Linked DNA regions of Homo sapiens: region 1 is linked to region 2. The links are contacts of gene promoters, found by promoter capture Hi-C in blood cells and fetal thymus (Javierre and others, 2016). All regions are on one chromosome and are shown on one strand. Each heading gives the region's core, a stretch centred on a gene start or on the middle of the fragment in contact. The rest is flanking DNA. Distances are from core to core; before and after follow the strand shown. Region 1 overlaps LOC105372058 (a long non-coding RNA gene). Region 2 holds the start of KLHL14 (kelch like family member 14).

The links. Contacts are between HindIII fragments. The CHiCAGO score rates a contact against its expected background, and 5 or more counts as called.
Region 1: a contact is called between a fragment that was not itself captured here and the fragment with the promoter of KLHL14 in region 2, in 1 of 17 cell types (naive B cells). The highest score is 5.8, in naive B cells.

Annotation. Positions count from the first base shown.
Region 1 is chr18:32,899,914-32,906,889 of GRCh38, forward strand. LOC105372058 (a long non-coding RNA gene) reads left to right here. Exons shown (of 10, transcript XR_935361.2): 7 at 592-700; 8 at 1,601-1,820. Among named protein-coding and RNA genes, the nearest start is that of KLHL14, 130 kb to the left of the region's middle. The HindIII fragment of the contact is 7,195 bases long and covers 1-6,900 here.
Region 2 is chr18:32,770,410-32,776,864 of GRCh38, forward strand. It overlaps KLHL14 (kelch like family member 14), which reads right to left and starts at 2,614. Exons shown (of 9, transcript NM_020805.3): 1 at 2,258-2,614; 2 at 1-225. The coding sequence starts at 182. LOC105372055 (a long non-coding RNA gene) reads left to right here and starts at 267. Exons shown (of 2, transcript XR_935342.4): 1 at 267-1,878; 2 at 2,906-3,032. The HindIII fragment of the contact is 5,436 bases long and covers 716-6,151 here.

The DNA.
Region 1 (6,976 bases), core at 2,053-4,552, 130 kb after region 2:
AAATGATAATATCTTTCTGAGTTTGGCTGCAATTTTGGTCCTTGAAAAGTAGTATGGCTAAGTCACAACATTTAGTCGTATAATTGGCAACTTCTAACCCTCCAGCAGATGGAGCACGAGCTGCCCAATTCATCTTGTGCCTTTTTTTCTTTAGCTGCAAATGTTCAAGAGGTACATGTCATGATGCATATGGGTTTCTATTCTAGAGTGAAGATTCAATGAAATATCTTGGTCAGATTATCCTAAAGCAGAGCCCAAATCCAGGACTTGGATCGAGTTACCTTCTTGTTAGAGCAGGGAAACCATCTTGACAGAGCAGGGAAATGGAGACAAGGAAGTAGGAGGGACAACACTTTTGGAATATCAGCTGGTTTTTGCTGTGGGCAAGTAGGTCTTAATTCTACTGAGGACCCTCTAAATGTATATGTATAGAATGTGAACCTCGGAATTGTCTTTCCAGAACATGCGAAGTCCAGACATTTACCTGCTAATGCCTTTGTCTCATTAGTTGAGAGTTTCCACCACACCAGGAGTATTGTCTCCCATCCCACTCCCACGCTTTCTGACTGTGACTGTGTTGTGTGACTTTAGAGAAAGTCCTGAGGCAGAGAAGTGGAGAGAAGTTGCTGCTTGAGCTTGAGAAAGAATGGTGGCAGAGTACATGCATGGAAGTGCTACCATAGCTGCTCTGAAATCAGAGGTGGGCCAAGTGGATGGGGTGCAGGGCCCAAAAAAATTTCTGCTTTGAGATAATGTTTATGCAAAGTGCTTTGTGGTTCATTAAGTTCTAACACATGTTATTTGTTATTAATAGTGAAAAATTCAAATGTTCTTGTTTATAATAAAACATAATAAAAGTTTATCAAATAGCATGGCTCATCCTAATTAGTAATATTGGTGATACTATGGTATAGGGTTAAACCTATTTGTTTGTAAAAGGCCAGAGATTGGGTAGAGTATTCATATGTCCATTTGTTACTTCTCTGCCCTGCTTTTTACTTCCCTAGAACTGCTATCTGTCTATCCCTGCAGATAACACACACACACACACACACACACTCTCCAGTGATCTATCCACCCCCTCATTGCTCTCAGACATTATTATTCCAATGAGCATGTGACAAACCCATATGGGCGCAGATAAAATGAATTGGGAATACTCAGTTCTTCCTTCCATACCCCCATAGGTTGGGAGACAGGAGGTTATGATTTGAGAGGTTAATCAAACACATGCTTTGCAAAACTGCCCTCAAGACAATGACCAGAGTTGGAAGATTCCCAACATAAAGAAAAGATAAATGTTTGAGATGAGGGATATTCCAATTATCCTGATTTGATCTTTACACATTGTATGCATATACCAAAATATCACATATACCCCCAAAATATATACAACTATTATGTATCAATAAAGATCAACAGAATGGCCAGAAACCCAGACACTTGCTACTAACCAGTAAACATGTCCAGGCCATAATTAAGCTCTATTTCCATAGTCCATAGCCTAGGCTTATCAGACTTAAACTTGTATGTTTATATAATCATCAAGGAATATCTAATAAGTGCTCATAGTGCTTGGCCCTGGTTCTCTCATTTCAAGGAAAGTGGAATTATAAGAAGACCCCATCTGACAAGGCTCATAAAGGAGAGCAACTCTTATGGAATACATCCAAGATATATACGTCTTTGAAGAAAGACATCACTCAACTGTGAAAGATCACCATGACCCCTGCTTTAATTTCATCAAAAAACTTAGTCCATCAGCTCAGTTACCCTTTAGCCTTGCATGGGAATTGACTCAGAGCTTCTGCAAGATCAGGGTGAATATGAATTGTTTAGCTTCAGATGATCATTCCTAAAGTGAAAACTCCTGGAACTTATTGGCAAAAAAGAGAACTCTTTGCTATTTCTAATATAAATGTGTTATTAGAATTGGTCTACTGTTCTAATAAATAACAGTAATGGAAATGGATTGAAATAATGAAAGGTTATTTTTCACCCCTGTTAATTTATTGAATCTGGGGGATTAGTAGGTTGCTCCACTATGCAGTCATCCAAGGACCCAGGCAATTTTCATTATGAGACTCAGTTTTATTCAGGTTCTCAGATCTTCTTGTTCTACCTTATGGTCAGGAAAAGAAATGAGGTTCTCAGGTGGGCCTGGAAGGAGTGTATGTCACTTCTACTCATCCTTTTGGTGAGAACTTAGTCATATTGCTACACCTAACTGGAAGAGAGACTGGAAATTCTAGCCTAATTGAAAGGGAAGTAGAGAACTCAGTTATGGGCAAAACCTTACGTCTCTGCCAAATAAGTAATAGAAATGTGGGACCTAATTGAACAAAGTAATGACAATAGGAGACTTTGTTTTCTTTGTGGATCAGTTACACATTTAATATTTTCATATCCCAAGAGAGGTGAGGCTTTATGTTTCATCTATTATGTAAGATGCTCTATTCTGGACAAATATAGACAATTTCTTCCTGAGGAATGGCATCTCACATTTCTGGCGTTTTACTGTTGCTTCTGATTCTGCTTTGATATCGTAGATGGAATAGAGAGTGAAGACAACTATTTTCATATAACTATGGTTCATGATTGGCCTTTGGATAATCAGCCATTAGCTGGAATAGTCACCACTGATGCACTTTAATTTTATAATAGGCATCCAGCAGTTCGGTGATGAATGTCTAAGCCAGAGTGGAGGGGTGAGAGAGGAAGGGTGCTCATATATTAGAATTATCTGGAAACATTTTCAATTATTCATGCTGGTCTCAAAATAAATCAGCATCTGGTGTAGGGTTCTGAGAGAAGGGAAGTAAGACATAGATTTTGCAGAAGTTACCTTGTACCTGGCCATCCCTTCACCCAACTGAAAATCATCACTCTAGACTCTAAGTTCCTCTATTTGTTGTTGCCCCTCTTTGTCCTAGTGGCACATTTATGCTATTTTTTCCTTTATGAAGAGCAATTTTCCTAGTGAGTAATCACTTAAGTGAGTTCAGTGTATTGTCTGCTAGAGTTGCCAAAACAAAACGCCAAACTGGGTGATTTAAACAACAGTAACTTATTTCTTGCCATTTTGTAGGCTGGAATTCTAAGATCAAGGTGTTGGCAGGGTTGGTCTCTAGTGAGGACTCTTTTCCTTGGCTTGCAGATGGCCACCTTTTCATTATGTTATCATATGGTGTTTTCTCTGTGTACACATCCCTGGGGTCTCTTCCTCTTTTTATAAAGACGTTAGTCATATGGAGTTAGAATCCTACCCTTATGACATCATTTAATCTTAATCACTTGTCTACAGGTCACATCTTCAAATACTATCACATTAAGAATTAGTACTTTAATATATGAAGGGAGGGAGGCAAAATTCAGTCTGTAACATTGAAAATGTAAAAATGTCTCCAGTGACACATACTACCTTTTGGCTTCCAAAGATCCTACAGCTTCAAATTTTCTTGAATCTTCTGGGTCACAAAAACCACCAGGAGTAATTACAGTCCTAATTCCAGTTAGGAAAGCTGCAATGGCAAATTGAAATTCATTATATAAAATCTAGATGAATTTAATTTCAGAATATTGAGCTGTGCCTAATCCTCCTCAAAGTAACATTCAGGTTAAGAACTGGATAATTTGTATGGCAGGCAAGTTTTCCCCTGGTCTCCCAATGTCTTCCTAAATTCCATTCTTAAAACATCTCCTTCCTTCTTTTCAGTATCTTTCTCAAAAATGTGCTATGCTCTTCACACTGAGGCTGCCAGATTTCTTCACTATCGGTCTCATCAACACCTATGCATCCTCCTGTCTCAGTCTTTTAGGTTTCTGCTCTGGGGAAATGGCAACTAGCTAATGTGATAAACAATTCAGATAAATATATAGGTGGAAGATAAGTATTTTAGGCTAGAACCTCTTTTTTTTTGAGACGGAGTCTTACTCTGTCACCCAGGCTAGAGTGCAGTGGCGTGATCTTGGCTCACTTCAACCTCTGCCTCCCAGGTTCAAGGGATTCTCCTGCCTTAGCCTCCCGAGTAGCTGGGACTACAGGCACGTGCTACCATGCCTGATTAATTTTTTGTATTTTTAGTGGAGACGGGGTTTCACCATGTTGGCCAGGATGGTCTCGATCTCCTGACCACCTCAGGTGATCCGCCCACCTCGGCCTCCCAAAGTGCTGGGATTACAGGCGTGAGCCACCACACCTGGCCTAGAGCCCCTCTTATATTTCCACTAATGACATGTCTTCTGAAAACTCAGAAAGGTGCTCCAAGCACACTCTCTAGTCAGGCCCCATTCCCTGAGTGTAGATAATCAGTCTTGCATTTTTCCTCCAAAGAGCTGACCCATGTAGGTATGTTCTTAGGAATAGACCATCCATTTCAAATGAGTGCATTTTATTATGATCTACAGGGCACGGTTTTCACAAAAGCATTAAAAAAAATCTCCTGTTTTCCCCTCTCTTAACTCTTTCATGATCTGCCTATACATTATGAGGTCTGAGAGAGTAGGAAATGTATCCTATTTTCTTTTATTTCTTTAATGAATACTGTTGGTGCTCAGAAAATGTTTGGTGATTACATTTTTGTTCTAGTACAGGTTTGTGTGTGTGTGTGTGTGTGTGTGTGTGTTTGGCAAATATTACTTTTACCATTTCAGTTTTCAAAATATGCAACCCAAACAGAGATTAGAATGACTCGGATTTTGGAAGATTTTAGAAGCAGAGTTGGATTATATATTTATAAATTTTTCTAGTGCCATATCTTTTCCCAACTCCAAGTATCTAAACCAGCAGGGTTAAAATCACGCTATTTGAGTCAGCATTCCCTTTGAATGGCATTATTATTACTGTTTATCATTGCCTCAGCTTTTGCAATAGGTTCGGTGCTGTGAAACACATTAAAAAGACACAGTTCTTGCCTTGGGGCTTACACTCAGATAGGCAAACAAACAAAGTGTATTTAAGAAGAGGTAGATTGATCACGAAAATGCAATTTCCCAGGTGTTCGTATTTGTGCTTTGGGTTCCTTTGTCTTTTAACCAGCCGTGGACTAAAGCAATCTTGAAACTTTTCTTCAAACAAAGATATAAGTGACAAGAGTTCAGGGTAAAAAACATGAGCCTTAAAGGGCAGAATACAGGGCTGAGCATCCACAGGACCTGATTCTGGGGGTCTCTGTGGTCTTGAATTACTCTCTCTCCTCATGCTTCTTTCAACAATTCAGACTGCCAGTGGCTTCCTCACTGGAAACCAAATCATTCATTTAAAAATGGATCACCAAATTTTATGGCCCGTCTTCAAGCCATCAAATACTGTTTAAAAAATGGACTAGTTCTCCTTACAGACTGAGATATTTATTTGAACAAAATTTAGAAACACTTTTATCTCAAGGATTTATTACCCTCCAAAATTTTAAGTTTTGAAAATCCAGTTTGTAAGCTGAAATGAGTAAAAATGTATTTCATAATTTTTACTCCTTTGGTGAACATTTTAAAAGTTTTCTCATGCATAGAGCAAAAACAAATATTTCTATTTTGTATATTATCTTTGGTGTTTGTGGGAAATACTCGCGCATGTGTGCACGCATGTGTCTGTGTGTGTGTGTGTGTGAGTGAATGCAAAACTTGAAGTTTCACATATGAAGTACATTGGGAACACAATCTTCATGCTTGGTAAAGCTGTAGAGATGTCCACATTGCAAAGGGACTGGCAATAGCTTCACTAAAGGGCTGGCAATAGCTTCACCAAGCCGTGTTCCGCTGCGTTTGGTCACCGTAGTCTCTAGGTGCATGGAAGGGTTTCTCGCAAGGATCTTGACCTGGGTCAAGGCCATGCATATTTAGGCCTTGGTTTCCAAAGTTTCTGTTTAATTGCACTTTTTCATCACATGCAGGAGTGTGGTATGCCCTTCCAGATGGCCCATACAAATGCTTTGTTGTACTTCACTCACTCTCTGCATGCCAAGCATCTCTGGGACTACATACATCACCAATTAGCATCTTATATTCATTTGACAGGAAAGGTTCTGCAACATTTTATACAGTTTTCTTTGATAAACATGATTTGCATGTTCTTCTCTTATAAGAAACAAGTTTGTGATTGTGGAATTTTCCTTCCTACTCCTCCCTCCCACCAAATGCTTTTCCCCATGCAGCAACCAGTTGATCTGTATTTTAGGAAAAATGTCTTTTGTGTGACATTTTTAGAACCCGAGGAGACCATGTTAGTGTGTTTACCAATGTATACCGTAGGTATTTACTATGTCACATCTCTCCAGGGGGCTGTGTTCTTGCAGGTACATTCTGAATTTTTCAGATTCTAGATCATGAGACCTCATCATTGACCTATAAATCTGATACTGCCATCCCTTCAGGCCTTTGCAGAAGTCTTCCAGATAAACCTTCATTTTCTGAGCTCTGTGCTGAGCATTTGATAGTGAATTTTGTGTACTGACACTGATAGTGAGATGCAGTCTTAACATGTAACAATCACATTTAGTCAATACACCAAAGAGATGCAATGCACCAGAAGGATCAAATTGTCACCTGGCAAATGGTGACTGTTACTTTGAAGAGTTTTCCAATGTGATAAATATTGACACTCTGGATAGTGGATAAGTAGAATGCACAGAACCGTGTCGGGTAGCGCCTTCTTCATGTCTCCACTTGGATGGCTCATAGGCATTTCAAACTTTACCCATCCACTTTCAGAATTGTCAACACCGGTTTCTCTCCCATCTAATAAATGATTCATCTACTCAGTTCAGAAACCTGCAGTCACCGGGAATTCCCTTATTTCTTTCATTCTCCTCACCCGCCTCCTCCTGGAATCTGTCATTGAGTTCCTTTCCATTCAGTCTTTGCCAACTCCTGCCCCATCCTCCCTTCACACCCCAGTGCCTGGAAAGCTTCTGTAACTTCCAAACTGGCCTTCCTTTTCTAAGTCTGGTTTTGGTAGATTCCTTTCTCTACCCTACTGTTA
Region 2 (6,455 bases), core at 1,364-3,863:
AGCGATCGGAAGTACTGCGAGCAGGAGGCCAGCACGGCCTTGTGGCAATGGAACTGCTGGCCCTGGGCCGTCAGGGTCACGTCGCAAAACAGCTGCTTCCTCCACAGCAGGTTGAGGCCGTGCAGCAGGTTGTCGCTGTGGCTGGGGTCGAAGGTGGAGGTCCTGTCCCCGGATCTGGACATGGCGAGCTGACTCGGTGCACCTGGCTTTAAACCCTCCTCCAACCTGGCAGACAGGGGTGGGGGATGGGAGGGAGGGGAGCAGGGTGGTGGAGCGGGTGGGGTGTGGTCGGGGTGGGGAAGGGTGTGGAGGGGAGGGGAGGGCGAAGAACAAGAATCAAGGCTCAGCTTGACTCCCTCCTGGCGCGCTCCGGACCCCGACCCTAGGAGGAAAGTCCGAAGACGCTGGATCCGTGAGCGCCACCAGAAGGGCCCTGTCTGGGGTCCCGGCGCCGGTTCTGCGCCCTGCGGCTCCTCTCGCCACCTCCCACACACTTCGTCCCTCACTTTCCTAAAACCAACCACCTCAGCTCGGCTGTTGGCAGCAACAGCAGTGGCAGCAGCGACGGCAAAGTGGCGGCTGAGGCCGAGGCACCTCGTGGGCTCGTGTCCATGCCGGGCCAGATGAAGGGAAAGGCCGGGAAGTGGGGAGCCGGGGGTGCCCTGAAAGCTCAGAGGCGACCGACGGCGAAGGTTCCAGGTCAACTTGTGCCCGAAGCTTTGCTTTTCGCAGTTGGCCCAGTTTGGGGGAGGGGGTAGGAACAGGGGCCCGACCAGCGTGCGGGGTGTGCGAATCTTAGCTCTCCAAAAGCTGGGACCCCCTTCGATTATCCATGCTGCCCCGAGAAACTCCTAGGCTAATAGTCTGAGGGAGGAGATAAAGCCCTTTCTTCTCCCGGGAAAGTGCAGCGGAGCGCGGTGAGGACCCGCTCAGTGGAATCGGCAGAGGCGGGAGCTGTCCTTATCAATTCGAGCTCATTTCCCTCAACCTGGCCCTGCCCGCTTCCCCGCTTCGCAAACTGTTGGCTTCCCCGTCACCACTCAGTTTGGCTAATTTTCCAGAGATGGCTTTAAACCTGGCAGGAGAATCCTTCCACCACCGCCACCCCCACCCGGTGGCCCCCTCTCCCCCGTCTCGCTCATTTCAAAGCGCGGAAGTTCAGGCATCAATCTCCCCTTCCAGCGAGGGGCGGCACCGAGGACTCAGGGGGAGGAAGTGGGGCTGCGAGGACGCGTTTGGAGAGGGAGCCGGGAGGCCTGGAGGCCGGGAGGGATTCGTGTGCACGGTTTCCCCTCCCGGGCACCAGGCGCAGTCGCTTTAACTCCAGTAACTATGAGAAGTTCAAGTTAGAAGGCAGGTGTTGGGGGAGGGGTGGGGGCTGTCGAACGAGCGGGGGGGCGGGGGAGCAGTGGGGTGCGGGGTCTCTGCGCCCCACCCAGCATCGTCGCCTGCAGCCGCAGCTCCCTTCTGACCCCCTCGGTAGAGCCCCCAGCGGCCCCCCACTCGGGCACCCCCACTTCCCCGGCCCTGGAACTACTTCTGTAAAAAGTCTGAGCCGCCCGCATCTAGGCAGAGGAGGGCAGGGTGGGGGAGGCGAGGCGAAATCGATACGCCAGGTCCTTAACCTGTAATTGCACCTTCCAGGGCTGAGCAGAAAGGGACCCTCTGCTTGCATCCCGCCCGCGCGCCGGCCCGCCGGCCCGCCGGCCCGCCCGCCCGGGGGAGAGCCGCCGCCGCCGCCCGGCTCGGAGGGATCCCGGCGGACCTGCCCCTTCCACTGCGGCTCACTCTGCCCTGCCTGGCGCCGGTCCTGGATCGCCGGCTTCCTATTTATACCGGACTGGGCTCCTTTCGACTCACTTTACCATCCCGTTCCAGGTGGACCCTACCCTCCCTCGCGCTCCCTCCGCCGGCAGCACCCCCACGCCCGCCCCCAAAGCTCTGGCTTGCCTGAAACATCTTACAGAGTCTCTCTCCCTTTAAGAGGACCCGGTCATACCTCTCTCTAGCTCTCTCCGCTTCGTTGTCTCCCCCCGCCCCATCTTTTCCTATTCCCCTTCCTTCTTGTTCTTCTCCCTTGCCTTTCCTCCTCATCTGCTTATTTCTTGCAATAGGAGTTTTTTCTTTATGAGCGTTTGCCATACAACTACCCCCCCGCCAACCCCTCTGAAAGACTCCCTCCCCGGCCCTTCCCCCTCCAACAATCCAAAAGACAGAACAAAATACACACAAGGCAGACACAAGGCCAGAAACTTACCTGTTCTCAACCAGCTGCAAAGTCAAGGCTCACTTAAGCTCCCCCCAAAAATCAATTGTCCTTCCTTTTTAAAGGTTTGCTGTCTCCTTGGGAGGGGGAAAACACCTTCTGGTTCCCAACTCCAGGCAGTCACTCTTTACAATTTATTTTGTCGTACATCATTTGATCACCATGAATTAGCAACAGCAAGAAAATGTAGGAGAGGGAGAAAAGAGAGAAAGAGAGAGGGAGAGAGAGAGGGAGCAGAGCTTTCTGCAAGAGAAGAAGAAGAAAAAATGTACGTGTGACAAATTATGCTACCAAGAAACAACACATCATTATCCTTGGGCCTGGGGCTCAGTGAGTCGTAACGAGAGTAATAGGAAATCCACGGTTGGGGAGAGAAACGGTCGTGCTTGGCCAGTAGAGAGAGACCATACAGGGGGATGGATGCTGGAGAGACTCGCAAAATTATGGCTCAAGGCTATTGTAAAAATTGTCGAGCGTAAATGACTGCGATTTCAAACATCTTTGGAAGAAAGAAGGGGAAAAAGCGAGCCCCCCCTCCCTCCCTCTCCCTCTCTCTCCCTCTCTCTTCTCTCTCTCTATAAAGAACCGTCAAGTTTTAGTGCGCATTGCTAATTAGTCAATTTCTCTCTGCCTTCACAGGCTGGCGACTTCGCTGCTGAGCTGAAACTGCTAATTTCTGTGACCAGCTTTTTTCTTAGCTGTGATCTGGATGAATGAGTAGCTGTCTCACAGAGATGACAAAAATAAACTCTAATCCCCCCCAAAATTTCCACTACATCTTTCTCATGCATAGATTTATGATCTTCAAGTGCTCTGTGCAATATGCAAACTTTTTTTGTGTCTGTATATATGCTGTTGTTTCCAGATTTCACTACATTGGTATGCTGCTTTTCCCTTCCCCCCACACCTCCCCCCCACCCCCAGCACTGTGAAATGCAGAAACAGTCTGATCTCAAAGTATGCTAAGACACTACTTTATTCTGTTTTGGTATTTGGGGTTTGGGTCTGTCCTGAAAGACACTAGCCCTTGCCTAAAAGGTGAGTGGCTGAGGATACACACCGGGGTGGGGGAGTAGAGCTGGTAGACAGAATAGAGGACAGCCCTTTGCTTTACATTTGCTTCCCACAAGGCACTGTTCAAGGTTTATGATCTTATTTGAAAACATATTTTCTCTATCATTTTGTCTGGTTAAACAACTGCCTCTGAACTTCTCTGTCAGCTCTTCAACAGATAAGGGTGCAGAAGTCACGTTTTTTTTTTTTTTTTTTTTTTACTGAAAGATTATCATATTGTTGGATTTGTATTTCAATTAGGAGTCTTTGATTTGCAGGAGCTAGAATCAAGTGCTAGGAAACCCAGCCGCAATTTCACAAATGTAACCTTTCAACTTTAGAGCTCATCTGATATATAAGGGCAACCACATAGTGCTCACATTTTTGACCCTGCTTAGCATGCAAAAGGAACCCCAGCATGTTTCTGGAATTTTAGCTGTACCAGAGATTCATGTGCATTTTGGTAGAGGACATGTTCTCCAGACTTATCTCATGATGTATTGCACCCTTATGTTTATAGCCCTGCATTTCGGTTGTCAATGGGGGTTGGAGGTGTCCAAGAAAGAAAGAAAAAAAAGAAGCAGAAAAAGGAAGGTATGCCCTTGAGTAAAATGAACACGAAGAAAGCTGGACATGAACTAAATTGAGCTTTGTTTGCTATTAACTATATGACTATGATTCATTCTAATTTATATGTGCTCTGATTAGTAAACTTATTAAAATACGTATCAGGGCACCATTGCAAGACATCTATTCAGACCCCCCATCATCCTCTTTGATTTGTGAGAGATGGAAAGACACCTGCTTAGGAAAGGGAGGAAAATTAAAAATTCTGAGGTTCAGAAATAGGGATTCCCCATTTACAATGATAACATTAACGTGCACATGGGATAGTCACACTTAAATGAATTAAGAAGGATCAAACTGAAGCATTTAACCCTCACAAAGCCCCCCCACTTTTTTTGTCAAGGTTCTAGATTATCTGAGAGTAAGACTTCTTTATTCAGATCCTGTTGAGATGCTGCATTCTCATATTTATGTTTATAGTGGAAATGCCCCAATACATGATTAAATCATAGAAAAGAATTTTGCTGTTGTTGTTGTTTAGGGCAGAGGAGAGAAAGACAACAGATTATACAATTCTCCTGGCCCTATTATTGTTTTGATTTTTGTTTAAATTTCCCTTATTTGGGTGTTGAACAGGAAGATCATGTGACTCTAAGATAGAACATTTTTGGAGTTCTGTGTCACTAGCAATTAAAGCTATCAAGTATGTGGAGTGTCACAAAACTCTCATACATGTAAAGTGCAATTTTTATATTATGATTTTGATGTTGATCTTTTATGAACTTCTCATGAAGTATTTGGAACTAAGCCCAAAGGCAATAATAGTATTGATCACTTAAATTATGGCCACCTTCCTGTTTTATCTTGAAAGAATTAAAGTATGTTTGTAGGCCTCAAAATAACTTAGTTTCAAATTTCTATTTTTTTATGGATAGGATATATTGACCACTAATTATGATTACCAGGCTCTTTATTGCTTCCAAACAATATAAAAGCCACATTTCAAAAATTTTAGCTACCTATAATTTTAATGCTTATTTAACAACTAGGGTGGAAAGGGAAGAGAGTGGGATTGGGAGCTGGCAATTCTAAAATGGCTGTTGAAGTGGATAAAAACATTTTCTTCTGCATTCTAAAGTTATCTGATAATGTTTAAATTTCAGAAAAAAATACAATTCTGGTTATTGTATAAGCAATTAAAAAAGAATATTGATAAAGGGTCCCTTCATAATCTGTGCATAAACTAGCATATATGTCATGTAAATCTCACACCTCCAGTATCTTATACTGGCTTTGACTGAAATTATTGCAGAACTCACAAATGAGACGACACTATTTACAATAAATCTCGTTATGAAAGATTCAATTTGCAGCAATCAGATGCTAGCTACTAAGCGATTTTAAGTATTTGAATTTTATCCTACTTCAGTGTTCAACATACAGAAATTGCATCTGTGTGTTTGATCTGTCCTGCTGAGCGCTATCAGCAGCTTGCATCTCTGCCACTATTGTTTTTAAAATGGCAGGAAGGACGTGACTAGTCAGGAGCACTCAGCAGGATGGATTTCACGTGGCATAAGAGGAGCCAGAATTGTCTTTTTTAAAAAAAAATTAAATATGATTGTGTAGTCATCTAATGCAAGCCATCTTCATACTTCGATAGAATTATCAAAATTATTCATTAGTGAATTTGCATTTAAACCATGTACAATGGAAAGATTCTGAAACTATGGCCACTGAGCAGTCTACTAGAGCTGCCATTAGTTTCTAGTGGTCTGGTCAGCCTTCAAGGTGGCAGAGATCCAGGCCTATCAGTGGTTCCAGTTGCTCAGGATCATCTCACTGGACTGGAGGAACTGAAGATTATCTTTAGAGCAGTTCTAGAAATGTTTTGCTGCTTAACATATAGGGGCAGCCACACTGAATCTTTATTTTCCTTATTCTTGACTTTTCTGCTTAGGATTTATGAGTTATCACCAAATTGCATAAACATCAGAGCCTGGTCTCCCCTGTGTCTTTTGGATAGTAAACACTATTTCAATGTGATCTGACCTTTAAGATTACTGTCATTGTGGAATGGATGTATAAGGGAAGAAATTATTCCATTTTACACATGGAATAAAATTGAGTAAAGAGGGATCACATAGCTCCTTCAAAGTTAGGGAGTGGCAAAACCCAGGCACAACTCAAGATTTCTAGTTTTTTTTTTTTTTTTAAATCTTGAGTAGATGGGTCAAAGATATCACAGAACCATCAGCACTGAGAAGCTTATTAAAGAACACAAAATCTGAAATAACAATAAGAAATGGTGCTATTGGCTAACATTTAGGCAAAAGCCAATGGTTTGCTATTGCTCTGCTGTCAAGCCCAACTCTGTGGCTCACATTCCGGGTTCCCAGTATTTAGCTCTAGCTCCTCTGGGCAGCCTGTTCTGGACACGCTCCACTGTTAAACTGCAGCACCTATTGTTAGGCTGTGTCTTTTTGAGAGGCCTTCATTCTCTACAAATAGAAATTCCACTTACCTCTCAAGAGTAAACTCAGATTTCTTTCCACTATAAAACTTTTCC